2 separate regions of the Homo sapiens genome follow, and region 2 is linked to region 1. Evidence: promoter capture Hi-C in human tissues and cell types (Jung and others, 2019). All regions are on one chromosome and are shown on one strand. The core of a region is centred on a gene start or on the middle of the fragment in contact, and the rest is flanking DNA. Distances in the headings are between cores, read along the strand shown.

Region 1 (5,474 bases), core at 560-3,059:
AACAGGAAAAAGCCCCTGCCCACAAGAACCCCGTCTGCTTTCTGCGCAGCCCGGCGGCGCACAGCAGGTGCTAAAGAGCCTGCAGCTCTTGACTGAACCAAGGATCTGGGCTCACAGCCGGGAGCACCAGAGGAGGGGCCAGGGAGGTGGAGGATGGGGGCAGACTAGGAAGGGTGGATGTGACGATAGAGGGCCTCTAGAGCCCGGCCTGGTCACACTCCGCAGGCAGACAGCAGATCACCAGGAACCTGAGCCTCTCTGAAGACTCCTCTCTCTGTGTCATCCACACCTGGTGTCCAGTTCCACAAACATGCTGTGAGCCTCTGCTCTGTGCCAGGTGATTTGCTGGGCAGTGCTGGGGACACAGTGGTGACAGCCCAGCCGTGCCCAGCTGAGGCTCCCAGGCCAGTGGGGGAAAAAGACCCAGCCCCAGACAGCGAGAACCCAAGGCAGTCAGGGCTGAGACAGGGAATTCCAGGCCCTGAAGTCCAGGAGGGCTTCCTGGAGGAGAGGGTTTGGGGAAGGCAGTGGAATAGAGCAGAGGGAAGCAGGGATATTCTGGGTAGAGTGCAAGTGAAACAGAAGAACTGAAGCAGAGGGTTCCCGGAAGCAAGTGGTATTCTATGTAGCTGGTCAGGTGGGCAGGAGTCAGGCCGGGCAGGGCCTCCTGGGCTACAGTGAGGAACCTGGGCTTCCTCCCAAGGGCACTGGGGAGCCACAGCAGGTTCTGAGCACGGAGGGGCAGAGGCAGGTTTTTGTTTTGGAAAGAGCCTCTGTCTGCCATGTGGAGGGGCAATGGGAGTCGGGGAGACCAGGGCCAGAGACTAGGGAGGAGGCTGGTGGGGAGACAGGAGGACCCAGGCAAGGTGGGGTGGTGGAGTGGTCACCTAGACCAGGGCAGGGGCTTCAGGGAGGGAGAGAAGATATACGTAGAGTCAGTTGCCAGAAGGGGTGGCGTGTTCGGGGAGTAGGGGGAGGCATCAGGGATGAGGCCCCAGGTCTCTTTTCCCAGCGATGAGGTGGGTAGTGGCGCCTTCCCTGATAAGGGCACCAGGGGAAGATACACTTCTGGGGGAAGATGCCAAGGTCAGTTTGGGACAAGGTGAGTGAGAGGTGCCCAGGGACATCAGGGAGGCATCCTGATTGATACTGGGATGAGGTCCCAGTGCTCTGGGCCAGGACGCAGAAGAGTGAGGTGAGGTCACAGGTGGGGAGAGGGGAGCAGGAGGCGCCAGGACATCCTCTGTGCCTCTCACCTGGCCTCACCCGCACCTCCTCAGGGCCTTCTCCCCCTTGTTAGAGCCCTGCCCCACGAGGGCAGCCCAGGACACAGTGCTGGAGGCAAACCAGGACAGGTGAGCACAGGTGTGGCCCCCTGCCCGGAAGCAGGCTGCAGAGGCCTCAGAGGAACCAGGACTCAGAAGCCATCAGGATGCAGGTCATAAGAACACAGCTATCAGCAGCTCTGGCACCACAACCCCCTCGGCTCCTGCCCAGCATCATCTCAGAGACACCTTCCCTGTTACCCTCCCTCCACCCCAATTTAAAGTAGCAAACCAGGCCAGGGGCAGTGGCTCATGGCTGTAATCCCAGCACTTTGGGAGGCCAAGGTGGGAAGATCACTTGAGGCCAAGAGTTTGAGACCAGGCAGAGCAACATAGCGAGATCCCATCTCTACAAAAAATAAAATGGCAAATCCCCTTTCTGACTTTATTTTTCAATCTGACGTGGAAGATATTTACCTTTCCTTTATTTACTCCGCAAATGTCGGCCCCCTGAGGGCAGGGATTTCATCCGTCTTGTGCACGGCTGCATCCTCAGCGCCTAGAACAGCACCTGGCAAACAATAGGTGCTCATTCAGTATTTGTCCAATAAGTGAATGAGTGATTTACTGAGCATTTACTCTGCGCCAGTCGTGGTAAGTACTGTACTTCACATGTGTATCTACTTAATCCTTTCAACAGCCCTGTGATGTGAGTACTATTGTTTTCCCTATTTTACAAATAAGGAAACTGAGGCTTGGCAGAGTCCATAAATTGCCCAGGGTCCTGGAGGTAGGAAACAGTGGAACTATGTCCAGAGCCTATACTTTTTTTTTTTTGAGATGGAGTTTCACTCTTTTGCCCAGGGTTCAAGCAATTCTCCTGCTTCAGCCTCCCAAGTAGCTGGGATTACAGGTGCCCGCGACCACACCCAGCTAATTTTTGTATTTTTAGTAGAGACAGGGTTTCACCATGCTGGCCAGGCTGGTCTTGAACTCCTGACCTCAGTTGATCCACCCACCTCGGCCTCCCAAAGTGCTAGGACTACAGGCATGAGCCACTGCGTCCGGCCATGAGCCACCACGCCCGGCCAGAGCCTATACTTTTAATAACAGGCATACCAATCAGACCCACGTCCACCAGGCTCTGGCTTAAATCCCTGACTTGTAGCCTCTCACTAACTGCTGTCAACAAACCTGAAGTAGGGTCCATATCATCTCTATTTTTTTGTTTGTTTTTGAAATGGAGTCTTGCTCTGTCACCCAGGCTGGAGTGCAGTGGCAGGATCTCGGCTCACTGCAACCTCTACCTCCTGGATTCAAGCGATTCTCCTACCTCAGCCTCCCTAGTAGCTGGGATTACAGGCATGTGCCACCATGACCGGCTAACTTTTATTTTTTGTTTTTGCTTTTGTTTTTTGAGATAGAGTCTCACTCTGTCACCCAGGCTGGAGTGCAGTGGTGTGATCTCAGCTCGCTGCAACCTCCACCTCCTGGGTTCAAGAGATTCTCCTGCCTCAGCCTCTCGAGTAGCTGGGACTACAGGTGCACACCACCACACCCAGCTAATTTTTTATATTTTTAGTACATACGAGGTTTCACCATATTGGCCAGGCTGGTCTCGAACTCCTGACCTCGTGAGCCACCTGCCTTGGCCTCCCAAAGTGTTGGGATTACAGGCGTTAGCCACCACACCCAGCTAACTTATATTTTTAATAGAGACGGGGTTTCGCCATGTTGGTCAGGCTGGTTGCAAACTCCTCACCTCAGGTGATCTGCCCATCTCAGCCTCCCAAAGTGCTGGGACTACAGGCACCTGCCACCACGCCTGGCTATTTTTATTATTATTATTTTTAGTAGAGATGGGGTTTCGCCATGTTGGCCAGGCTGATCTCGAACTCCTGACCTCAAATGATCCGCCTGCCTTGGCCTCCCGAAGTGCTGGGATGACAGGCATGAGCCAGTGCACCCGGCCATCATCTCTATTTATCAGAATAATAAATGGAGACTCAACAAGGGACTGTCCCCAGCCCCACTTTGGGTAAGTGCAGAGCTGGTGTCAAAACTCAGCTCTCCTTGGCCCCAAAGCCTCCGAATACGCCCATTTGACAGAGAGGGGAAAACAAGGCCTCCGAAGTGGGAGAAAGAGAATGTGAACTTCTGAGCACTTTGCAGGAAGCCAACAAGAAGGAGAGCCCCAAAGAAAGCATGTGGCCATACAGTTTCCTGCCCTTCTGTCTGGGTTTGCACACAGAGCAGGGCTCAAATCCCCTCTCCCTGCAGGAACCCGGACAAGTGGGAGTCCCCACCTAGCTCATCTCCATCTGCAAAGGGGGGTCCTAAAGGTGCCCACTTTACAGGGTTGTTTTGCCATCCGCTGAGACAACACCTGTAGGTCCCCTGCACTGGGTGGGGCTGGGAAAGGTGCAGTCACCTTTTACTGATTTTCTTCCTTGGTGACTCCCAGGCTCTCTGAGGAGGCCACGGGCCTGGGTGGTTGGTAAGAACTACCCGAAAACCTTCCCCTACTTTTCCTCTCTTCTCCTCGGTGACCTGGTTCCTCTCCCAGTACCAAATCCAGGCCCTCGGCACAAAGAGGGTTAGGCGGCTGCCCCAGGAGGCCTGCCCAGGTCACGGCCTCTGGCCGGTGCCCGCCACACCCACCCTGGTACCCAAACCGGGCCCCAGATCCTTGGTGACTCGATCCCTCCAAATTCAGGTGATCTCCCCTGGCTCCAAATCACCAAACCCTCCCAGGTCCTGCGGCAGACGGAGCCGAGCCCCAACCAGGAAGGGAGTCCGAGCACTGGGACTTCAACGCCACCATCTCCAAGACTCGGTTTGGGGTGAAAGATGGCGCTGACTGGGTACAGCTGGCTGCTCCTCAGTGGTGAGCGAGAATGGCACCCCCCAGCACCTCAGCCCCCCGAGGACCCCAGGGAGGGGAGGGGACCCCCAGTCTGAGAGAGGGAAGGTGTGAGCAGAAGTCCAGCGTGCTAGGGAGGGAGGGCAGCCCTGCTTCACACCGGCAGTTTACCCCTCCAAGAGGCATCTGCATTGGGCAGGCTGGGGACAGCCACCCAGAGAGGTTTTCAGGGTGGGCTTTGGAGATTTCTAAGCCCAGGGCACAAGCCAGGACAAGGGAGCCGCTGTTGCTCCTTCATTCCTGCAGGTTTCTGTTTTATCAGCTATGGAAGCCTTGATGAGGCTAAACTCTTCCCAGCAGCTGTTTCTCCCGGAAGATGTAGCTTAGGGCAGTTGCCTTTCCCTTCTCAGCCTCTGTGTACCCACCTGTGAATGGGGCCTCACTGACAGGGTCATGTAAAGGTCATTATAAGCAGCACCACATATGCCGTGTGCCCGGAGCTGTTCTGAGAGCTTCTCATGGTTTAAAACCACCTATGAGGGGCCGGGCAAGGTGGCTCACACCACTAATCCCAGCACTTTGGGAGGCCGAGGCGGGCGGATCACCTGAGGTCAGGAGTTCAAGACCAGCCTGGTTAACATAGTAAAACCCCATCTCTACTAAAATACAAAAAATTAGCTAGGTGTGGTGGCACATGCCTGTAGTCCCAGCTGCTCGGGAGGCTGAGGCAGGAGAATCACTTGAATCCAGGAGGTGGAGGTCACAGTGTGCCGAGACTGCACCACTGCACTCCAGCCTGGGCAACAAAGCAAGACTCCATCTCAAAAAAAAAAAACAACCCCAAACCACCTATGAGGGAGGCCCACACATGAACCGCACTTCATAGGGAGAAAACGAGGCTCAGAAAGGTGAAACCATTGGCCGCTGTCACACGGCCAGAGAGTGGCAGGACTGAGGGCTAGACCCAGAGACCCTCACTCCTAGCCACACTCTAACAGCCTGGAAAGTACCAGAAAGCTGGCCAGCCATGTCAGTCCTTTTGACGTGAGCACTGTCACAGCCGCCCGTTCCGGGCATTCAAACCACACGTCATTCAAACCCAAGCAGCCCCGACCAGCTCATCGGGCTTGGGGCTGATCTGCTTGGTTGAGAAGGAAAGGGGTGGAGTGTGTTCATCTTACCCCTGCTTTCCGCTGTAGGCGAGCTTGGAGAGGCAGAGGCAGAGCCCCAGACTGGGAGTCAGGACCCAGGGGGCAGGCCCTGACATCCTACGTGGGGCCATACAATTAGCTGGGCTGGATACGCAGCCGGATCTCGCGAGACTTAGTTTGGTGACTGTCACGATG
Region 2 (5,514 bases), core at 2,356-4,855, 640 kb after region 1:
GTCCAGCGTCGTGAGGCCAAAAAAATGGGGGGCAGGGGGAAGGCTCTGCTGCCCCTCGATCCTGTGCTGTTGAAATAGCTGGAGCTAGCACTTTGGAAGGCCGAGGCGGGTAGATCACCTGAGGTCAGGAGTTCGAGACCAGCCTGGCCAACATGGCGAAACCCTGTCTATACTAAAAATATAAAAATTACCTGGGCGTGATGGTGCACACCTGTAATCCCAGCTACTCTGGAGGCTGAGGCAGGAGAATCATTTGAACCCGGGAGATGGAGGTTTCAGTGAGCCGAGATCATGCCATTGCACTCCAGCCTGGGCAACAGAGACACTGTCTTTTTTTTTTTTTTTTTAGGGGATGGAGTTTTGCTCTTGTTGCCCAGGCTGGAGTGCAATGACGCCATCTTGGCTCACTGCAACCTCCGCCTCCCTGGTTCAAGTGATTCTCCTGTCTTAGCCTCCTGACAAGCTGGAATTACAGGCCCATGCCACCAAGCCCGGCTAATTTTTGTAATTTTAGTAGAGACACGGTTTCATCATATTGGTCAGGCTGGTCTCGCCCTCCTGATCTCAGGTGATCCGCCCTCCTGATCTCAGGTGATCCGCCCTCCTAGGCCTCCCAAAGTGCTGGGATTATAGGCATGAGCCACCACTCCCAGTGAGATGCTGTCTTAATTAAAAAAAGGAAGAAAGAAAGAAATAGCTGGAGCTTGGCACAGTGGCTCATGCCTGTAATCCCAGGACTTTGGGAGGCCAAGGCAGGAGGATCGCTTGAGGTCAGGAGTTCAAAACCAGCCTGGGCAATATAGGGAGACCCCCATCTTTACAAAAAACAACAAAAAGTAGCTGGGTATGGTGGTGCATTTGTAGTCCCAGCTACCTGGGACTTGGGAGGCTGAGGAGGGAGCATTGCTTAAACCCGGGAAATCAAGGCTGCAGTGAGTTACGACTGCCACTGCACTCCAGCCTGGGTGACAGAGTGACACCTGTCTTTTAAAAAAGCTAGAGTAGGCCGGGCATGGTGGCTGACGCCTATAATCCCAGCACTCTGGGAGGCCGAAGTGGGTGGATCACCTGAGGTCAAGAGTTCAAGACCAGCCTGGCCAACATGGGAAACTCCATTTCTACAAAAATATAAAAATTAGCAAGGCATGATGGTGGGTGCCTGTAATCCCAGCTGCTTGGGAGGCTGGGGCGGGAGAATCGCTTGAACCTGGGAAGCGGAGGTTACACAATGAGCCAAGATCGTGCCACTGCACTCCAGCCTGGGCAACAGAGCAAGACTGTCTTAAAAAAAAAAAAATGCTGGAGTAGTTAGGATATGAGTTTGAATTTTTATTTCCATGATTCAATCAGCACCTATTCTCCCAAATGCCTTCTCTGCGTTGGGCCTGTGCTAGGTGGCACTGGGGACACAGTGGAGACTGACATGGCCCCTGGCCGCCTCCTCCCTTCTTGGGGCTCATAGTCTAATATGGGACTGACCTGTCTCCCCACACTGATGACCCAGAGTTGGCAGGGCTGGATGTGGGAGCCCAAGAGCCTGGAAACCTGGGAAATAAGAAAGGGCTTCCTGGAGGAGGAAGCATCAGCACTGGGGCTCAGACAACAGGGAAGTAGAGGGCACGTTGGCTGCAATTCGGAGGGAGCGCGGAGCTGTGCCGAGTCTGGAGTTTGGTCCACGGACCAGCAGCGCCCTCTGCTGGAAGCATTTCATAGTGTAGTGACCGGGGTACCGCGCGCATTGAGCCATGTATGTATGTATGCATTTATTTATTTTTGAGATGGAGTTTCGCTCTTGTTGCCCAGGCAGGAGTGTAATGGTGTGATCTCGGCTCACTGCAACCTCTGCCTCTGGGGTTCAAGCGATTCGCCTGCCTCAGCCTCCCAAGTAGCTGGGATTACAGGCGTGCGCTACCACACCCGGCTAATTTTGTATTTTTAGTAGAGATAGGGTTTCACCATGTTGGCCAGGCTGGTCTCGAACTCCTGACCTCAAGTGATCCAGCCCCCTCGGCCTCCCAAAGTGCTGGGATTACAGGTGTGAGCCACTGCGCCGTCCTCAAGTTATATTAGAATCGTGTCCTCCCAGCTTTGGCCAGCTTACTATTCTAGGACTTGATTCCTTCATTCAGTCACAATTTATTGAGCACCGACTTTGCATCAAGCTCTTGCTGAAGATAACAGTGCTGACAATATACAGCCCTGCCCTCAGAGCTTATATAGTAGAGGAGAAAAAGTGAACCCATAATATACAGTCAGTAGCGAGTATTTACTAAGTACTTTCTATTTGCGAGGCCCTGATAAAAGTACTGTCCTGGCCAGGCGCGGTGGCTCACGCCTGTAATTCCAGCACTTTGGGAGGTCGAGGTGGGCAGATCACCTAAGGTCAGGAGTTCGAGATCAGCCTGGCTAACATGGGGAAACCCCGTCTCTACTAAAAATGGAAAAATTAGCTGGGCATGGTGGCGGGCGCCTGTAATCCCAGCTACTCGGGAGGCTGAGACAGGAGAATGACTTGAACCCAGGAGTTGCAGTGAGCCAAGATAAGATAGCGCCATTGTACTCCAGCCTGGGTAACACAGCGAGACTGTGTCTCAAAAAAAAAAAAAAAAAAAAAAAAGTACTGTCCCTGTATTAGTTAACATTCAATTCTCAAAGCCTTAGACTATTTATATTTTATTGACTAGGGAAACTGAGGCACAGAGAGGTTAAGTTACTTGCCCAAGGCCTGCACAGCAAGTAAGTGCCGGAATCAAATTTGAACCCTGAGCCCAATTCTTAGATATCACATTCCCTTGCCAATAACATAATATATAACATAACATAATGATGTGATATATGTTATATAAAATAACTTTAGGGGCCGGGGGCGGTGGCTCACTCCTGTAATCCCAGAACTTTGGGAGGCCGAGGCGGGAGGATCACTTGAGGTCAGGAGTTTGAGACCAGCCTGGCCGACATGGCGAAACCCCGTCTCTACTAGAAATATAAAAAGTAGCCGGGCGTGGTGGCAGACACTTGTAGTCGCAGCTACTCGGGAGACTGAGATGGGAGAATCGCTTGAACTTGGGAGGTGGAGGTTGCAGTGAGCCGAGATCGCGCTACTGCACTCCAGCCTGGGTGACGGAGCGAGACTCCCTCTCAATAAATAAATAAGGTAATTTTAGGCCCTGAAAAGTTTTGTGAACAAAATCAAGAGGAGTATGTAATGTTTTGGTGGAAGGGTGCCATTTAGAAGGGGGCAATCAGGGAAGGCCTGCCGGAGGAGGTGGCCTTTGAGAAGAGACCTAAAGACGATGAGATCTGTGGGAAGAGAGATCGAAGCAGGCCACACAACCAAGGAAAAGGCTCTGGGGCAGGCACTGCAAGAAAGCCACCTGTCTGGGATCTAAAGTTTCCAAAGTTTTAGCTTGGCCAAGGCCCCTGCGCTACAATCACCCTGATTCGAGGTGTCCTGGAGGTTACCAGTTCCGCGTGCGAAGTTCTGCCATTCCCGCGGGGCTGGAGCCCCGAGGCTGAACTTCCCACGGGCGGTGGGCGTGGCCGGCTCACCTGCGGGGGCGTGGCTCCCGGCTGCCCCGCCCCTCGGAGGAGCCGCCCGAGGTCCCAGACGCCCGGCGCAGCGGGAGCGGCGGGGCGTGCCTGGCCTGCGGGACGCGACTGATCGCAGTGGGGCGAAGCGGGGCCGGAGCCGCCCGCGGTCAGGTGGGTGCCGGGAGTGGGGCGCGGGACTCTCGGAGAGCCGCGATGATGGGGGGCGGGGGCAACCCTGGGCCCGCTCGCCCTGAGACGGGGAAGGGCCTTGGGGCTCCCGGATGCCCCCTGCCCCGTCCTGGGGCTCTCCGGGATCTGGAGGCCTGGCTGGGGTCCCATGCCCCCCACCCCAGCGCAGGTAAACAGCGAGGACGGGGCGGGGCCTGGGAGGGAGAGGGAGGGGGCCCTTGTGACTGCGGGTGAGCCTGGTGCGCGGGGCTGGGCAGGCCAGGGTAAGTTGGTGCGGCTTGCGGGGCTGGGCCACGATGGGAGTCTCCTGCCTGCCTGTGTTTGTGTGTGTGTGTGTGTGTGTGTGTGTGGCTTTGCGTGTGTGTAAGAGAGTGTGTCAGGCTGTGGGTATGAGGGTGAAAGCGACTGTCCGTGTAACCCTGTGATGGGACTGTGTGTATGATGTGACACTTTTAGCAATGTGAAAACGTGGGCGACCTCTGACTGGAATGGTGTGTGTGTAGAATTGGATTGCTGGTAGCACTTTACGACCAAGAGCTAGTGCGACTGTAGTCGACTTTCTGCTTGGCCTGATGTGCATGTGTGTGGCTGTGTGTGTGGCTGTCTTCATGGCAGAGAGTGGAACTGGTTGTAGGATTAGGTGTGATTGACCAAGAGGCTGTGCGGCTGTGGTTGTCTTTCTGCCTGTTGGTGTGTGTGTGTGTGTGTGTGTGTGCGCGCGCGCGTGTGGTGGACAGTGTGGCACTGGATCAGTGATAGGTGACTATGATTGACTTTTGATTGTGTGTCACTGTGATGGTGCATGGGGCTGGGCGGAACTGTGTCCAGAAGTGGAGCTGTTTCATGGGACGGTGCGCGTGGAACCTTGGGGTTGGATGAGTGAGGTGTGGAGGTGTGTGAAGCCGTGTGTGCGTGTGTGTGTGTGTGTGTGTGTGTGTAGAGAGGAACTAGAGGGTGTGTGATCTGCATTGATACCGTGGCTGGCAGTGGTGTGCAACGGAGAGTTTGTGGGAGATGGGAGTGGAGACGTGGACATTTAAGTGGGATGCTCCTCCAAGCGGGTGACAGGATGGAAAAGGGGGTCCGCGTCAGGGATCAGTGTGTGGGACTGTGCCTATGATTATCAGCTGTGCGGTTGTGCACCCGGGGCTCTGTGTGAGTGTGGGAGCTGCTGTGTGTCTGGGACACAGCCCGAGTGCTGGATGGCTGTGGTTGAGCCGTGTTTGTTGCTGTGGTTGTCAATCTGGCTGTGGAGTGGTGTGTGTAAGGCTGTGTCTGAGGTTATAGAGGGAGGTTTTACATCGGCAAAATTGTGTGAAGAATGGTTGTGGTTGTCAGGATGACTCTTGAACCTGTGTGGTTGTGAGTTCAACCATTTATGATGTTTGTGTGTGAGGTGTGAGAATAGGTATGGTGTGATATACACAAGCACACAGATTGGCCGGGTGCAGTGGCTCATACCTGTAATCTCAACACTTTGGGAGGCTGAGGCGGCGGGGATTGCTTGAACCCAGGAATCCTAGACTAGCCTGGGCAATATGGTGATACCCCGTCTCTACAAAAACAAAAATTAGCTGGGCATAGTTTAGTTTTTTAAAAATTAAAAAAAGGTTGGCTGGGCGCGGTAGCTCACGCCTGTAATCCCAGCACTTTGGGAGGCCAAGGGGGGAGCGGGTGGATCATTTGAGGTCAGGAGTTTGAGACCAGCCCGGCCAACATGGTGAAACCCCGTCTGTACTAAAAATACAAAAATTAGCCAGGTGTGGTGGCGGGCACCTGTAATTCCAGCTACTT

What was found. Contacts are between HindIII fragments. The study calls those that stand out against the background at their distance.
Region 2: a contact is called between the fragment with the promoter of KLC3 here and the fragment with the promoter of CEACAM16 in region 1, in 1 of the 25 tissues and cell types used here (lymphoblastoid cells).

Annotation. Positions count from the first base shown.
Region 1 is chr19:44,697,342-44,702,815 of GRCh38, forward strand. It overlaps CEACAM16 (CEA cell adhesion molecule 16, tectorial membrane component), which reads left to right and starts at 1,810. Exons shown (of 7, transcript NM_001039213.4): 1 at 1,810-1,919; 2 at 4,020-4,152. The coding sequence starts at 4,116. CEACAM16-AS1 (CEACAM16, CEACAM19 and PVR antisense RNA 1) reads right to left here. Exons shown (of 2, transcript NR_186815.1): 2 at 1,697-1,836. The HindIII fragment of the contact is 25,622 bases long and covers 1-5,474 here.
Region 2 is chr19:45,337,145-45,342,658 of GRCh38, forward strand. It overlaps KLC3 (kinesin light chain 3), which reads left to right and starts at 3,606. Exons shown (of 13, transcript NM_177417.3): 1 at 3,606-3,702. RefSeq lists a silencer at 3,502-3,591. The HindIII fragment of the contact is 10,588 bases long and covers 1-5,514 here.